Linked DNA regions of Homo sapiens: region 2 is linked to region 1. The links are contacts of gene promoters, found by promoter capture Hi-C in human tissues and cell types (Jung and others, 2019). All regions are on one chromosome and are shown on one strand. Each heading gives the region's core, a stretch centred on a gene start or on the middle of the fragment in contact. The rest is flanking DNA. Distances are from core to core; before and after follow the strand shown. Region 1 holds the start of YEATS4 (YEATS domain containing 4). Region 2 overlaps KCNMB4 (potassium calcium-activated channel subfamily M regulatory beta subunit 4).

The links. Contacts are between HindIII fragments. The study calls those that stand out against the background at their distance.
Region 2: a contact is called between a fragment that was not itself captured here and the fragment with the promoter of YEATS4 in region 1, in 1 of the 25 tissues and cell types used here (dorsolateral prefrontal cortex).

The regions. Positions count from the first base shown.
Region 1 is chr12:69,358,173-69,361,110 of GRCh38, forward strand. It overlaps YEATS4 (YEATS domain containing 4), which reads left to right and starts at 1,571. Exons shown (of 7, transcript NM_006530.4): 1 at 1,571-1,851. The coding sequence starts at 1,801. RefSeq lists enhancers at 1,315-1,918, 1,476-1,665, 1,919-2,520 and a silencer at 1,946-2,105. The HindIII fragment of the contact is 10,052 bases long and covers 1-2,938 here.
Region 2 is chr12:70,381,566-70,384,503 of GRCh38, forward strand. All of the region lies in intron 1 of KCNMB4 (potassium calcium-activated channel subfamily M regulatory beta subunit 4), which reads left to right. Among named protein-coding and RNA genes, the nearest start is that of KCNMB4, 17 kb to the left of the region's middle. The HindIII fragment of the contact is 3,527 bases long and covers 1-2,938 here.

The DNA of each region.
Region 1 (2,938 bases), core at 321-2,820:
CTTGCACTTCTATTTAGTGAAGTCTTTTAAAAAGTATTTTCTTTACAGTTGTTAAGTGGAATTACTAAAAATTACAATCAGCAGTATTTTCTACTCTTTTAGCTTATTTTTTAAAATATTTATCTCCATGCTTTTCAATATTACACCTATATTGCTTCTTCTTGATTTTTCCATTTTAAGATACTGACTTCCTACTATGGAAGTTAAAGATTAAGCTCTATTTCCTCCTCCTCCATCCCCATCAAGCATAGTACCCTTCTCCAAAGCCCATCCTTCTAAATGTAATTCTTTTTTTGAGGGGGAGGGGGGATCAATACTCAGTTTTTTTTTGTTTTGTTTTTTTTTTTTTTTTGAGACGGAGTCTTGCTCTGTCACCCAGGCTGGAGTGCAGTGGTGCGATCTCGGCTCAAGGCAAGCTCCGCCTCCCGGGTTCACGCCATTCTTCTGCCTCAGCCTCCCAAGCAGCTGGGACTACAGGCGCCCACCACCACGCTCGGCTAATTTTTTTGTATTTTTAGTAGAGACGGGTTTTCACCGTGTTAGCCAGGATGGTCTCGATCTCCTGACCTCGTGATCCGCCCACCTTGGCCTCCCAAAGTGCTGGGATTACAGGCGTGAGCCACCGCGCCCGGCCAATACTCAGTATTTATGTAACAATAAATACAATTACTTTCCTTTCTTGCACAAGATTTTGTTTTCCCTAGAATTAATAGCTGCATAATTCTTACAGCCGCTTAGTTTTCTGTGTACCTGTCATGAGTTAAACTCCAAACTCTCGGTCAAATCTCCTCTTGATTCAACGCCAGCTGGAATTTTGTCAATCCCATCCTTCTGAAGCAGTGTCTCCCAAAGATTTCTGACCGAATCTAATCTAGATGCGTTGCCGTCTATGCCTATACACAGCTATTGTTCCCGGAGCTCTTTCAGTATCATCTTGGGATCTTACTATTTTCTGTGTTTGTTATTTATTGTATTTCCTGCATTTCATAATTTCCTCCTTCTTGGCTTATTCCCTCATTTTGGTGGATCAGATCTACAGGATCTTCCTGGAGGTACTGAGAAAGGTAAGATAGGTACTATTTTTTGTGTGTAGTGATTTAGCACATCTGAAACTCTATTCTATTCACACACTAGATTGGTAGTTGGATGAGTATTGAAGACTAAATCGGAAGTAATTTTCCCTCAGAGTTTTGAAGACAGTGCCGTATGGCTTCCTAGATTCTAACTGAGCAATCTGAAGCCACTCTGATTCTATAGTCTGTATAACCTGGAAGGGTGTGGGATCTCTTTTTCCTCGATGTTCAGAAAATTCACAATGATATGCCTTGACGTGGATGCTTTAATATTTGTGCTGGGTGCTTAGTAGGATCTTTCAGTGTGGAAACTCATCTCCTTAACATCTGGACAACTTTTTGAAGTCATTTATTATTTCCTGCCTTTCATTTTTTTTTTGGTTTGGAACTCCTGCACTGGTCCTGTGATGTGACTGCAGCCGCCAGGCGCGTGCGCAGTGTACACTGCGTGCGCATACGCGAGCCCGTTGCGCCTGCGCGCGGTGCGGCCGTCGCCCCTCTTTTCGCGGCGTTCTCCACCTGCGCGGGCCTGAATGGCCTTCAGGAGCACAGTCGGCCTGAGGAGTTGACGGTTACTCACCGCCGTGAGCCCAAGTAACTCGCCCTCCTTCGGCTAGAAACCCTCCGCCTGGGCCCGCGCGACAGGAGCGCGGTCTCTGAGGGGAGCGGCGACCCCGCCAGCCCCGGTCTCTTTCCCTGGCGGCGGCGGCTTCTTCCGTGGGACAATATGTTCAAGAGAATGGCCGAATTTGGGCCTGACTCCGGCGGGAGAGTAAAGGTCAGTGCCCGGACCGCCCCTCTTCCGGGGTGGCTCTCCCGCCTCGGTTCCTCCCTGCGCGGCGCGGGGAGGGCCCACTGGGTTTCCTTTCGCGCCTTTTCTCCTCGGGTTTGAACCGTGGTTTCAGGTTGGAGAGCGAGTCAGAGCCATTGAGCGAAAAACCGGCGTTCATTGGGCCCCAACTTCCTCGCGTCACTGCCAACTCCCACCCCCGCCAAAAAACAAACAGATAAATGGTGGCTTGGGGAAACCCGGACGTGGCTGCCAAGGAAACGGGCGACTCCGAGGGCTGGGAAAGCTCAGCTTGGTGCACATTCGCTGCCAATCTAGGTTATTGGTGAAGCGGTGACGCCACCCTCCTGGTGTGAGGATAACAATAACTGTAGCAAACAGTCGCTGAGCGCTTACCCGCAGTATTTCCAAGTGCGGTAACTGAGACACCGAGGCATACGAAAGCTAAGAAAATTTGCTGGAGTTCATGGTGTTCACAAAGCCTCAAAGCAAGAGCATAACACTGTGCCTGGCACATGGGGAACATTCAGTAAATGTCAACTTCTTTTGTTTTTGATGAAATTACCATAGACCCTAGCGTAATGTTTGACATTGTAATATTTATTTCCCTCACACAGCCCCTGGCACGTTAATTTTTTTTTTTTTTTGAGACGAAGTGTCTGTCTTGTTGCCCAGGCTGGAGCGCAATGGCACGATCTCGGCTCACTGCAACCTCGGCCTCCCAAAGTGCTGGGATTACAGGCGTGAGCCACCGCGCCCAGCCGTGGTTCATTCTTTTTAAAGAAAAATTTCCTTTCCTTTATAAATAAAAATCAGAAGGGGTACAAATAGTTGTTTTTATCAGGAGCCAGTGGGTCCTGCCTTAAAAATTAACGTGCAGGGCCGGGCAAGGTGGCTCACGCCTGTAATCCCAGCACTTTGGAAGGCCGAGGAGGGTGGATCACCTGAGATCAGAAGTTCAAGACCAGGCTGGTCAACATGGTGAAACCCCGTCTCTACTAAATATACAAAAATTAGCCGGGCGTGGTGGCGGGCACCTGTAATCCCAGCTACTAGAGGGGCTGAGGCAGGAAAA
Region 2 (2,938 bases), core at 263-2,762, 1.0 Mb after region 1:
ATACAATATGGATGAACTTCAAAAATATGGTAAGTATAGGAAGCCAGCCACAAAAAAACACACGTTATATGAGTCCATTTACAGGAAATGTCCAGAATAAGGAAGGAAATCTATAGAGACTGAAAGTAGATTAGTGGTTGCCTAAAGCTAGAAGGCATGGGAAGATTGGGAATGACAGCTAAAGGGTACAGGGGTCTTTTTGGTGTAATGAAAACATTCTAAAATTGATTGTGATGATTGTTGCACACCTCTGTGCAATCTACTAAAAACCATTAAATTGTACACTTTTAATGGGTAAATTGGATGGTATGTGAATTATATTTCAATAAATCTCTTGCCCAAAAAATAATAATGAATGATTGCTTTGCAAATTTCAGCATTTCAAATAACTTGTAAAGCAATGTATTATTCAGCAAGTGGTGTTAAAACTGCCTATTATTTTTTGGAAATAAATTTTAAAAAACTAATTTTCTAAATTTAAAAACTTGTTTGGAAAATACTAGGAATCATCAAAATGTTATTTGGAAAATATTTACTTAGAAATATACATCTAATTAAAATTAAAATTTTAGTTTTGATGGAATAAAATTTTAAAGGTGGCCGGGCGCGGTGGCTCACGCCTGTAATCCCAGCACTTTGGGAGGCCGAGGCGGGCGGATCACGAGGTCAGGAGATCGAGACCACGGTGAAACCCTGTCTCTACTAAAAATACAAAAAATTAGCCGGGCGCAGTGGCGGGCGCCTGTAGTCCCAGCTACTCTGGAGGCTGAGGCAGGAGAATGGCGTGAACCCGGAAGGCGGAGCTTGCAGTGAGCGGAGATCGCGCCACAGCACTCCCGCCTGGGCGACAGAACGAGACTCCGTCTCAAAAAAAAAAAAAAAAAAAAAAAAATTTAAAGGTACAAAAATAAATTATGAAAGTACTAAATAAAATTTGGGTAAATATATATTTTATACATTAATATTGTATATATGGGGTGGGCAAAGCTTTTCTAAACATGTAGCAAGGACAGAAATCATAAAGGAATACACTGATTAATGATATAATAAGGGAAAACTTACACATTTTTTTGAACATTAAAATTGAAGGAAAAATGATAAATTTGGACAAATGTTTGCAACATGGTGGGGAAATGATTAAAAAGTCAACATATGAAGTACTCTTAGCAATAAAAGACCATCTCTTCAGTAAAATACTAGGCATGAACATGCGTAGGCAGTTCAGTAAAGAATTACAAATAAAAACATGAAAAATATGTGGTATCTCACTAAAAATCAAAGAAATACAGTCGTTCATTGTTTAAGGTGATTTTGTCCTGTGAACATCATAGAGTGTACTTACACAAACCTAGATAGTATAGCCTACTACACACCCAGGCTATATGATATAGCCTATTGCTCCTAGGCTACAAACCTGTACTATGAGTGTACTGAATACTATAGGCAGTTGTAGCAGAATGGTAAGTTTTTGTGTATTTAAACATAGAAAAGGTACAGTAAAAATACAGTATTATAATCTCATGAGACCACAGTCATAAATGCAGTTCATCATTGACTGAAATGTCATTATTCAGCACAGGACTGTACTAATCAGATCATAACTATGTAAGGTGATGGACGTGCTAATTAGATTGTGGCAGTTATTTCACAACGTACACATATATCAAAACATCACGTTATATACCTTAAATATGTGCAATTTTTATTTGTCAAGTATATTTCAGTAAAGCTAAGGGGAAAAAAGAAATATTAATTAATGCAATGTTGAGATACCTTTTCTGCCTATCAAGTTGGTACATATTAAATTGGTGGCAATATGGGGATGTGGGCAGTCTTGTGCACTGCTGGTGGCAACATGTTGCAGGAGCAATTGCATGTCAACTTGGAAATACATATCAAAATCCTGAAAAATACATGTCTTAGGGTCTTAGGGCTGCCATAACAAAGTACTACAAACGAGGTTGCTTAACTCAACAGAGATTTATTTGTCCACAGTTCTGAAGTCTGTAAGTCCAAAATCAAACAGGTCCATGCTCCCCTGAAGGCTCTAGAAAAACACCCTTCCTTGCCTCTTCCTAGCAATGGTTGTTTCCTGCAATCCTTGCATTCCTTGGCCTGCAGTTGCATCACTCCAGTTGCTGCCTCTGTCTTCACATGGCCTTTTTCCCTCTGTATGTGTCTCCGTATCCCTTTCTTCTTTCTCTTATAAAAACACCAGTACAGCCAGGTGCGGTGGCTTACGCCTGTAATCCCAGCACTTTGGGAGGCCAAGTTGGGTGGATCACTTGAGGCCAGGAGTTTGAGACCAGCCTGGCCAACATGGTGAAACCCTGTCTCTCCTAAAAACATAAAAATTAGCTGGGCTTGATGATGTGCACCTATAACCCCAGCTACTCAGGAGGCTGAGGCAGGAAAATCACTTGAACCCAGGGGGCAGAAGTTGCAGTGAGCCGAGACCGTGCCACTGCATTCCAGCCTGAGTGACAGAGCAAGATTCCATCTCAAAACAAACAAAAAACACCAGTCATTGAATTTAGGGCCTACTCTAATCCACTGTGACCTCATCTTAACTAATTCCATCTGCAAGACCCTATTGTGTTCATGTAAATTGAACATTTTTATATGAAAAAAGACTATATACAAAGATCAAAGATAAATGACAAAATGGAAAAAATGCACACCATAAATACGATTTTTGACCACCTGTAGCTTCTAAATTTCTCCAATAAAGAAGGCTTATTTTTGTGAGAGAAAACTGAGAACTGTTACTTTAAAATAAATGCTCTGTGAAACACAAGAGACTAAATATTACAATGGAGAGGATCGATGTATTAAGATAAAACTACCTTCTTACAAAACCATGCTGTTTTACTTAAATACCCCTCTCCCATCCCAACTTGTCACCACGATAATGAATGACTGAAAAGGCCTCTCACAG